Linked DNA regions of Homo sapiens: region 1 is linked to region 2. Evidence: promoter capture Hi-C in human tissues and cell types (Jung and others, 2019). All regions are on one chromosome and are shown on one strand. Each heading gives the region's core, a stretch centred on a gene start or on the middle of the fragment in contact. The rest is flanking DNA. Distances are from core to core; before and after follow the strand shown.

Region 1 (5,355 bases), core at 629-3,128, 1.3 Mb after region 2:
TTTAAAAACATACTTGAACTAAATTTTAGAAAATAATATATAATAAGACAGAGTGATTTCATGAGGTGGTTGAAGAATACTGAGGTAGACCTTTAAGAAGGAGGATGTGGTTTGTTTAATTCTACATTGGGTAAAATATTAAGATAAGCATGTTTGCTAGAAGTTTTTGAAATTAAATAGAATGTATCTCCTCTAAACCAGACATGAAAAAAATAAAAAAAATTAAAATGTTAATCAAGAAAGATAAAATGAATCACAATAGCAGTAAATAAAAGTCAGAATACATAATGATAGAAATACATCAGTGACTACAATAAATGTAAATGCAGTAACTTTTAAAGTCAGAGCTACACATCCCCTATCTCTTTCTCTGTTAAGAAAAAAAATCAAAGGCAGTTGTGTTGCTTTTGCTATTAGAAACAATGTGGTTTTGCAGATTGTGACTTATATTTGGTGAAATTCTTGGTTTGCATATGTTTTCCTAGATATGTGTGTTCTGCTGTTTCAGTCTGTTTTGGCCTCGGCAGAAACTTAAAATGTGTGTCCAAATGTCATGTTGTAGGTCACAACAACGTTTCAGAGTCTCTGCTCTCCTCTGAATGCCTGTCTTTGCCATCTATCTGTGTAGAGCCCTCCCACTACTCTGGCTGTGGCTTTGGCTTTGACTAGGTGATTTTCTTTGACCAATGGAATGTTAACAAACATGGCCAAGGGGAGGCTTGGAAAGTGTGTACATACGGGATTTACCTGCTTCTGCACTTTGCCCATATAAAATAAGAGCACGGCTGCTTGAGGAGGAAAGACAGGAACAGAGCCAAGTCACAGCAGTCATTCTATGCAAGGCCATCCCAGATTAGCCAAAAGCCAGCCGTCCCCTATAACATGGGAACAATTCCCACAAAGTTGGATATGAAAAATTGTCCTATTAACCCACAGATTTGCTTATTGTTTTAAGTCATTGAGTTTTGACATGATTGGTTAGAAAACATTATGGTGCTAAAAGATGAGATTCATGGAGTTGGCTTTCTCAGTTAGTGTAGAAAAGTGCAGTGGTGAAATGCCTGTGTTAATATGTTAAGAGACCTCATACATCAATATAAACCAATGAACTCAGGGAAGTGAAACACAATTCTCTCACTCACAGTCACTGAAGGGCTGTTTTACAATTTTCTTCACCAAATAATCAAAATATATTTGACTTTTAACAAGTATCAAAGGTCTAATAACCCCTGCTTTTCCATACTTCTATTAGCATCAATTTGTGCTCCTTCAAGTCTTTCTGTTCACCTGCTATGTAATTCTTCTCATTTGCCAGTCTTATCCTGCTGTCTGACAGTTGCCTTCTCTTTTCTGGCTCTCTTGCCTCTGTTTAACCTGCCAACACCTTTTGTTTTCCCTTCCATGCTTCAGGAAAAGGAAGATAACTTGGCATACCTGCCAGAGACTTATGACAGTAATATATGAGCAGGGTGCTTCACTGATGTTGTAGGATAAAACAGTACCCTCAAGAAGACAAACCCTCTGTCATTTGGTTTCCAGGGATACAAACATATCTAAAAATGCGGAGCTAAATACATTTTAAAATAAGAAATTCTTTTAATAATTGAAGTATAGAAAAAGATACAGAGGGAAAAACAAGGCTTTGGAGTCAGACACTGCTGAAAGTGAATTCTGACAACCGTTTACCCCAGGCAAGTTACTTAACTGCTTGAGTATCCCTTTTATCTTCTGAAAGATGTGAGGATTATATGAGACAGAATAGCTAAACTCCCGGCACAACCAGCATGTTTCTTCTCCTGTCTCTCTGGCTTCACCAACAACTAAGGCTTTTTTTATTTTTAACATTATTCCTAAATATCCCCCAAATCCTTCAGCAAGTCTGCTCTGTCTCAGCCTCTTCAACCTGGTATTCATTCTGAGCCAGATCTCTTTAAGAGCAAAAGCCCTGTGGTTACTTGAACTTAACTGCCTAATAGGACAAAAGAAAGAGAAAGTTATAATGTTACTATAAATTCTACTTGGATACATTTTCAAATTGGAATATTTTATCCTTCTCACATGAAAATAATACTTTCACTAATCATTAACAAAACAGTGTTAAATTCCACAACTTGCAGAAGAAATCTGGATGACTACTTACTAGAGTAACTATGAAAACACTACTAGACACAATTATGTGCCCTAATAGGGCTATAACTAATCAATTGGATTGATAAGCTTATGGAAGATGACAATGGTCATATCCTGCAGGAACATCTCATGCGATGAGTATGTGACAAAGTAAAAATTTCTTACCTTGGTTGACTGATACTAATTTTTCTAACTGCTTATTTTACTAGATTACCATCTATTTAAACATCATCTTAATTTAAGGTCTCAATATGTGCCACAAACTGCTTCATAGACGTTGATATGTAAATGTTAAAGTGTGCAATTCTTTTTGATCAATAAGGCAGCTTTCTTGTTCTTACAATATTCCATAATAGGACAATGGCAAAGAGGAACACAATTATATCAAATGAAGCACTAGTACTTATGTCACAGCCAAAAGATAAAAACAGAAGCTACTATTTATCTAATGTTTTAGGTATGCTAAGCACTCTGCGCACATTAGTTTTTACGAAAACCCTTCAAGGTAAATATCTTTAGCCCATCTTACAGGGTGAAGGTACCAATAATTTGAGAATAAGTAAGTTTCCCAAGTTAAAAATAGAATGGCCATTTTTGTATACATTTGGCCGCAACATTATTAAACCAACAACAAAGTAACCATAACAATCACCCAGCCCCACTTTTGCTGCATCCATCTGAAAATAATGTTCCCACAAATGTCTCTTCCCTCCATGCTATAATCCTTTTATATCCTAGCCAATCTTAGATGTTGTCAATTTCTCCTTACATTTCGTCCTCTCAGAATTCACCTGCCACCTTACCTTACTCATTTGCTATTTTTGTTATTCAGGCAAACTGTTTATGCTGTTCTTAAAGGGTTCTAGGGAAGGGCATTTTCATGTCAATGTCCAGGTGGAGGTTGAATTTTAAAGTAAAGATGAGGAGAAGATGAAGAATGGGATTCTTTTCAACTTTTTGAAGACATAAAACAAATAAGAAGATACTGGATTAAGAATCAAATATCAGAATATATTTAATGAATTGGAGCTTGGGTTGCTATCAAGAAGCATGTAAGTGCAACATCATGCTTTGTTAGTCATTTTGTCCTTGGACAAAATAGATAGGAAAAATTCTTACAGTATGATGTAACAAATTAATGAATCATTTTTAAGTATATTTTTGGCACATTGATGTTATTAAAAAGTGAAGAAACATTTACTTCAGCCATTCTTGTATGAAATATGAGAAAAAAAAAGGTAGGAACTCAGACTTGCTTTTTATGGAATTAATCTTAAATTCCTCAGAGTTTTGGTTCCAGATTTTTACATCTACAGGGAACAAAGGAAGAATAACATAAGAAATGTTAATTTCATTTGTTGCATGTTACTTTTTTTTTCTTGGATGCTTTGTAAAACTTACACAAGGCACCATGAGTTTTCAGGAATTCTATCATGCTGTTGACATCTTGCTCTTATCTAATAGTAATGATCCAAGTTGGAAGCTGCCATCAGAGCATAATTCCTGCTTAATGATGATAAAGTAGGTATTGGTGAGATAATACAATATCTATGTATACCTGAAGCAGAAGACTTTAACTTGTTAGAATCGTCTTATCTAATGAAATCTGGAAACAAACTATTCTGATAAGGAAACATAGTTTTTATTTTATATCACTCCTCTATTGGATTTTCCTATCATTTTCTTCCCAAACATGGCCTGAATCTCAATTCTATTTCTCTGGAGGATTGAACTGATTATGTTATAGCATTTTGCTTGATATTACACTTTTGTTTTTCTTTCCCTTCAGCATCCCATTTTCTCATATTCCCACCAATTTTTCCAGGGAACACTTCCTGATAAATCACTTTTGTACGAAACCTCATCCCAGGATTTGCTTCTGGGGAACCCAAGCTGAGATAAGCATACATTAAAAATGTGAACACTTGTAATCATCAGGATAATCTACTTAGACTTTATTGAGTATTTTTTTTTTGCACTCTCAAGGCACATTTTGACATGGTTTGTATTCCCTATACTAAAATTTTCCTGGAGTTGATATTTGGATATTTTTCATTCACTTGTTTCAAGTTTAGGTAACACATAGAATCAAATATTTAAAATTGCATATGATTTGTGCCCTGAAGAACTTTCCAGATTATTGAAACTAGTTCTAGTCTTTCAGAGATGCTTCAAGAGAAGCTAAACAATTTAGCCATAATTGTAGAACTTAATAGCGGTAAAAGCCAGAATTAGAAGCTTTTTCTCTTTTTTCTAGCCAGTACCCAGTGGTGTCTTCCTGTTATAAAATGAACACATTTTTTCCCCTTTATCTGCCTTTGGTGGAGATACAGAACAGCTGGTCACCATCCTTCCTATTTGGTTAAAGAGTGCAGGAATGGATTATTATGGAAATCACTTCCTTCCCTCCAGTCTAGTAGGTGCTGACTCCACTTAAAGGAAAGAGCAATAGAGGGGAAACTTTGAATGCTGCTGGCCTGCTTCCATATAGTCTGTGGATAATGGAGCTCTTTGATGTCTGGTACATTCATAACCACTGAACTCAGCTTTCCAGTCAACAGAAGAGCTATTTTACACTACTTTTGATGTGATGAAATAACTTAACTAGACATGGTTAATCACATAGCTGGTGATTATGCCATGCAAGGAAAAGCCACTAAAGTAAGCTGACTGCCTCTATGCAGAACAAAGGAAAACTCCCTAGCAGGCATACACATAGCTGACTCAAGTGCTCTGGCATGACTCGGTTTTTTACCGTCCAGATTCACTCTTACTATTTTAACAACATGAAACATAATCATCACTGTGTCCATGACAACTCTGCATACCTGCCTGACTTGCCTATTGCTTATCCTGTGTGGCAGTCATTAGTTTCCTTCACTCTGTTCCAGAGATATCTGACTTTGATCACACTACCAGGCTGAAAACCAACCATATCTGGAACTAAAGCAGAGAAAGCTCTTTTGTAAAAGTGTAATCCCACTTAGGTCATCTGTTTATTACTTTGTCCAAAAGATCTAGATTTTCAGATGATTTGACTGGTATTACGAACGCAAATCCTATAATAAATGAGTGTCCCTATAGTTCAACAGCATCAAGGGAAAATATGATCTGGGAGAATAGCACTGACAAGTTGGTTTATTAGTTCAGCTGGCTTTAAAGACCAGCCAAAGTCCTGTTTTCAACTAGACTGTTTATTTGCATCAACTATTTCAAGAAAATAAA
Region 2 (5,375 bases), core at 650-3,149:
CACCGTATATGAGGTCCTATGACCTCACTATAGCCTCTCCCCAACACATTCATTCACATACCCATTCCTATGGCTACCCACTCCCAAAACTACAGCAGGCTACAAGGAATCCCTGAAATGAATAGAACGTACTAAAGAAGAAGGAGTGGGGTGGGAACAGGACACAAAGGGAAAGATTAATCACCTTTTCAGAAGAGAAAGCAGCTTCCTTTCCTCTTCCTCTTCTCTCTGGAAACTTTTCCAGTCTGGGAAACCTGAATAGTATGTTATATGCAATGAAGATAGAGGCACACGGCTCATACAGAAGTCAATCTGTGGAAGACCCTTGGGATATTAAACTCTGAGAGCCCCAAGAATCAGTAGAAAAGGGAAAATAGTCATTGATAATATTCACAAGTTCACATGTGTATGTGGCATCATTAGTAAAGTCCTTTCACATACATTACCCCATGTGATGCTCAAAACCACCACGTGAAACACAGACATCAGTGGTTACCTCCAGGAGGAATCCGAGCATTGAGGAAGTCAAAGTACGTATGCAAAGTTGTGAGACAGAAGCTCTGACTCCAAGCCCACCAGCAGTCCCTCCTGGATATCTCAGTTGGCCACCAATTGGGCAACACCCATTGCTCAGGTCCATCACTTTGTCCTGCCCGTAAATGGGCAGAGCAGGGCCTCTGAGCAGTGTCTCAGGTCTGATTGCTTTCCCATGAGCCTGTCTTCTGAGGGCTCTGTTTTCTAAGACTGCATCTAGTAACTGACATTCTAAGAAATCATGGGACTGAGTCATCATGAAAGAGACAGAAAGGGTCACCCCTGAAGCTCAGATAGAGCAGGCTGACATTACCTTTGAATGTCCCACCTTTCCTTCTCCTCTTGGCTCTGCCCTGATGCTGAGAACAAAAGACAGATAATGACAGGCTGGGACTCACTTCTCTCACTCTCTATGAAGCTCATTCATTCATTCATTCATTCATTCATTCATTATACAAGAATATTACTCTTTAATTAATAGAAATATGTTCCTGTTATCAATTTTTAATGGTGATAAAATAGCTCCCATTTTTCCTTCTCTGAAAAATCCTCAAAGAAGATTTTGCTGTGAGAGCCACACTTGATGTACTCAGTTAGCAATTCTGAAGGAGGGCAAAGACTCAGAGGTCAACAGTCACATCTGTGCTCCCTCATGGGACAAGTGTCACGGAGACAGGCCTATAGCTCCAGCCTCTGCTCAGAGACTCTCAGCATTACTCCTCTGGTCAGCCCAACACGAAGGAAGACTTGGTCAAGTGACAGGTGACATGGGAATCTGACTCATGATCAAATTTCAGCAGAGACCGTTCTCCTTCAGAGAGCCCACAATCTCTAAATAATCCCACCTGGGACCACAGAATTACTGTGTTTGGGATTTTATCCTGGAACTCTCCACCACAGCCAGATAGGTAGCTTCACATGGAAAACTATGAGCTTCAGATGGAAACCTTAGTCCTCCTGAACCCCTATGTCTGCCCAACCTCTTCCATAGAAGAGTGAAGTTCTATCCTCTCTTCAGACTTCCCATCTAAAACATGTCTCTGTACCAACCAAACTTATTTAGAAATGTTGGAATAGGATTGGGAAACAACAACAGGGCATCTCTCTTGGGTGTTCACCCACAGTTCCTTACCTTTTGGATGTCATTATTTTTTTCGGTGGGTGACGAATACAGGGTCAATACCACGTAGAACAAGTACAGTATAAACAACCCCAACCCACTCAAGCAGATGAAGTTGGGGTCGATATCCAACCAATGTGAGTCAGGGCTCAGCCCTGTCTCAGTATAGCTGTTCAGAAAACAGAGGATATTCTCCATGGTCTGAATAGCTCAGCTGCCTGAAGCAACTGAGCACTGAGGGTGCCCAGGCTTAACTATAAGCACAGGCCTGCATCACAGAGCATGGAAGAGTCACAGAAGGTTTCTAAGGGTGCAGGGAGCAACAAGAGGAGGGTGTGTCCACAGCCCCAACCCCACCAGCCCAGCTGACTCTCCTGGGCCCTCTAGGTCCCTCTGCCCTACCTTGCCACTCCATTTCCCAACTCCATCCCTTTTCATGTCATATATTTATCTTAGTGGAATTTTTGGTTTGTTCCAACAGTAAACCAGGCATTACCCAAGTCCCGCTTTACTGTTTGGAGCTCTTAACTTGGACCCCACCAACCACACTGCCTTGAAAGCCTGAAATACTGCCTGGAATATTTGTTGTACCCAGGCATTGCCACTCTCAGGATCACATATGTCCTCAAATCCATCTTACCTACAGAACGTTTCTGCCTTACATAAATGCAGATATAAAACTTAAATTTCCTTTATACTTGCTTCGTTTTGTGAATGTTGAACATTACATTTTTTGTTTTGAAGTCAGTTTTTACTATTTCCAATCAGAGTGACTGTCTCAAATGATTAAAACTAATGTTATCAAGGAAAAGAAGCTCACTGCCCAATTTGGGTTTTTGAGAAAAGAAGGTTTTTATTGTAAATTAACGAACAATAAGACAGGAGTCCAGATCAAACCTGTCCCCTGTGCTGGCTTTCATGGGGTCATTTTATTAGAAAAAGTTTAGGGAGTGGCCTCTGGAATTAATAGTTGATTGGTGGAAGGAAAGCGGAGGTCTGTAAGTCCTCCGCATGCACAGTTCTGTTTAACGCTGCCTCATGTATTCCATGTGCACATTTGTGGGGAGTTGGTTGAAACGTGGCAGAAATTTGGGCTGTGACGCCAGCCAGCTTGTTCTGTGCCAACTCCAGTTGGCCTTAATAGTTTTAATTCATTTTAGCCAGTTTTTTAATCTCAGAAGCAGGGAGAGTTTTGGCATTTTAGTAAGTTATTGTTGTTGTTGTTTTTTAATCGCCTATCCTGTAAACTGATTATTTCATTAGTCACTGTTTTCTTCAACTCTCTGGGGCATGGTTTCACTAATAATGCATTATTTAACATCTATAAAACAAAAATAAGTGTACAATAAATATATATAATTAAAACTTCAAGGGATCTTGGGGGTTAATTTATAGAACTTACTTTTCTGAAGTTAGTGAGGTTTAAACTGTTCAAGCACTTTTGGAACATACTCTCTACACAAACACACATACACATCGACCTAAAAGGAAGAAGTTGAGGCAAATTATTATAAACACACAGTTCATTTGGGTCAAGCTTGAGGATTGCGACCTGGGAACACAGATGCAAGTCCCCCTGAATATACACTCCAATTAGCAGCAGTTATGAGTGGGTTTTCAAAGTCAAAAAAAGAGGTCAAGGAGTGGGCTGATACAAAGTTGTAATCAGGAATTCTCATTGGTTTACAGAAGCGACATTGATTAGTGATTGGCTATACATTGTTAAGCTATATGGGGTGGGTTATCCTGTCAGGTGTGGCATTATTGGGTTACTATATAGCTCCATGTGGCAATAGCAAGCAGTTTCAAGAGATGAATACATAGCTCAAGGAGGAAATAGGGCTGTGATTTCTGTCTCATTTTAATGTCTCTCTAGGCCTGATAACTTAAGAGGACTCACATGCCTCAGATAAAAGTTCTTTTCTTTACAAACACACCCACACACCCATCCTGTGACAAATCTATCAGTATTTTCAAATCCAGAATCAATTAGTTCCTCCTTTTATTTCAATCTTATTTGTCATTATGACCCCACATTTCTAACTCTCCCTCAAATACAGACAGTCCCAGCCCTCCACATCAATTTGGTAACAAGTATGCAACTCCCTTAAAGCAGGGATAGGTTACAGTGCGCTAAGCTATTATGACCTAAAAGACCAAAATAGATGCCCCTTTATCAACTAAGACAGGCCCTAAGGGTAAGGAAACAAAGTTACCTATGGGTCAAGGGTTCAGGGCCTGGATGGCATGGCAAATTTCTAACTTTCTATAAATAGACTGCCTCTAACCAAACGAGCTATCAGCTCTGATCGGACAGAGGACCGGCCTTACAAACATTCTTTTCTGATAAGCTACTAATATTACAGATTGCCAGTATCTGCCAGCATATAGAGGCTGCATACAAACCACCTTTGTGTCCCATAGTTTACCTTATGATGTAAAGGACCAAATTCTACCTCATTTTAGTGCTAAAACCCCATTCCAAAGTGAACATGGGATGTATGATACATATATTTACTCATTGTGGTGTGCTCAGCTCCCACAGAAGTATGTATAGCTTCTCCCCAAAACTTGTTGAGTATGTATGAATATGAATGTAAAACACAACCTGTCCTTCCCCTATTCCAACAGAGAGCACCTTCATTCCACACTGGATGCTGTCCCTTCCTGGTTTGCAAACTGATAAGAGCAATGAGGCTCTCCTTTCTACTATTAAGTCATCCTGCTGGTATTGTGGATGATACTACTGATCCCATCAGTGTTTGGTAGCAGAGTGAGACTTAGGTGTGTCAAAGCCTTAGAGCAGAATGTAGTCTTAAGCAACCTCACCTGACTACACTGTGGGTCATGTAAATGTGATCTTTTCCCGAGTGCCTTGGCATCCAAAAAAACTTGAGAACATCTGCTCTATATTCTACATAATCACTTCTGCAAATGTCCAAATACCAACTGCCTGTCACACTTTATTCGGGTGACTCTTGTCAGTTTAAATAATTCCAATATCCCCCACCCCTAACCCACCTTCCTACACATTCTTTTCTAAACTCTTTATCATGACAGCTGTCCTCTAAACTGTCTTTTAATTTCTTATGTCTTTCTTAAACTATTGTTAAAGCAAAGTAAGTATGGCTTGAGAAGGACTCCATACTTCTATATTTGAGTCCTTGGGGATGAACTGTAACCTAGCTTAATAGTCAGACAAATTGAAAACCTAACTCAATAGTATGCACCTGTAACAACAGCTGAGTGTTGGCCAATCCCAGCGGCCATAATTCAACCACTCACAGACTGCTGAATGTTCAAACTGTGTTCAAATAAGGCAAACGCCAAGCTGTAACCAATCTCACTCTTTCTGTACCTCACTTCCAATTCCTATACATCACTTTACCTTTTTTGTCTATAAATTTGTTCTAACCACGAGGCATCCGTGGAGTCTCTGTGAATCTGCTCTGATTCTGGGGTCTGCCCAATTCACAAGTCATTCATTGCTCAAACTCCTTTAAATTTAATTTGTCTGAAGTTTCTTTTAACACTATAAAGCTCTTTATTTGACACCCATTGGCCACCACTGTTTGTTGATCTCTTTTGAAGGGCTAAGACAGCCTCCAAGCCAGGCCAGGTCTCTTTTCAATTATGCAGGAGCAGGTAACCTGCCTTGAGGATAAAATCTGCCAAGAGATGCCCCTTCCTCTTCTCTTTAATATGCAGTCTCGGCCGAGTT

The links. The method cuts DNA at HindIII sites, captures the fragments that hold promoters and counts their contacts. A contact is called where the count stands out against the background at its distance.
Region 1: a contact is called between a fragment that was not itself captured here and the fragment with the promoter of SPATA31D1 in region 2, in 1 of the 25 tissues and cell types used here (dorsolateral prefrontal cortex).

The regions. Positions count from the first base shown.
Region 1 is chr9:80,699,152-80,704,506 of GRCh38, reverse strand. No RefSeq gene overlaps it. Among named protein-coding and RNA genes, the nearest start is that of LINC01507, 880 kb to the right of the region's middle. The HindIII fragment of the contact is 7,480 bases long and covers 1-5,355 here.
Region 2 is chr9:81,985,296-81,990,670 of GRCh38, reverse strand. It overlaps SPATA31D1 (SPATA31 subfamily D member 1), which reads right to left and starts at 1,899. Exons shown (of 4, transcript NM_001001670.3): 1 at 1,667-1,899; 2 at 848-893; 3 at 185-254. The coding sequence starts at 1,852. The region is part of intron 1 of LOC105376107 (a long non-coding RNA gene); the gene reads right to left. The HindIII fragment of the contact is 9,723 bases long and covers 1-5,375 here.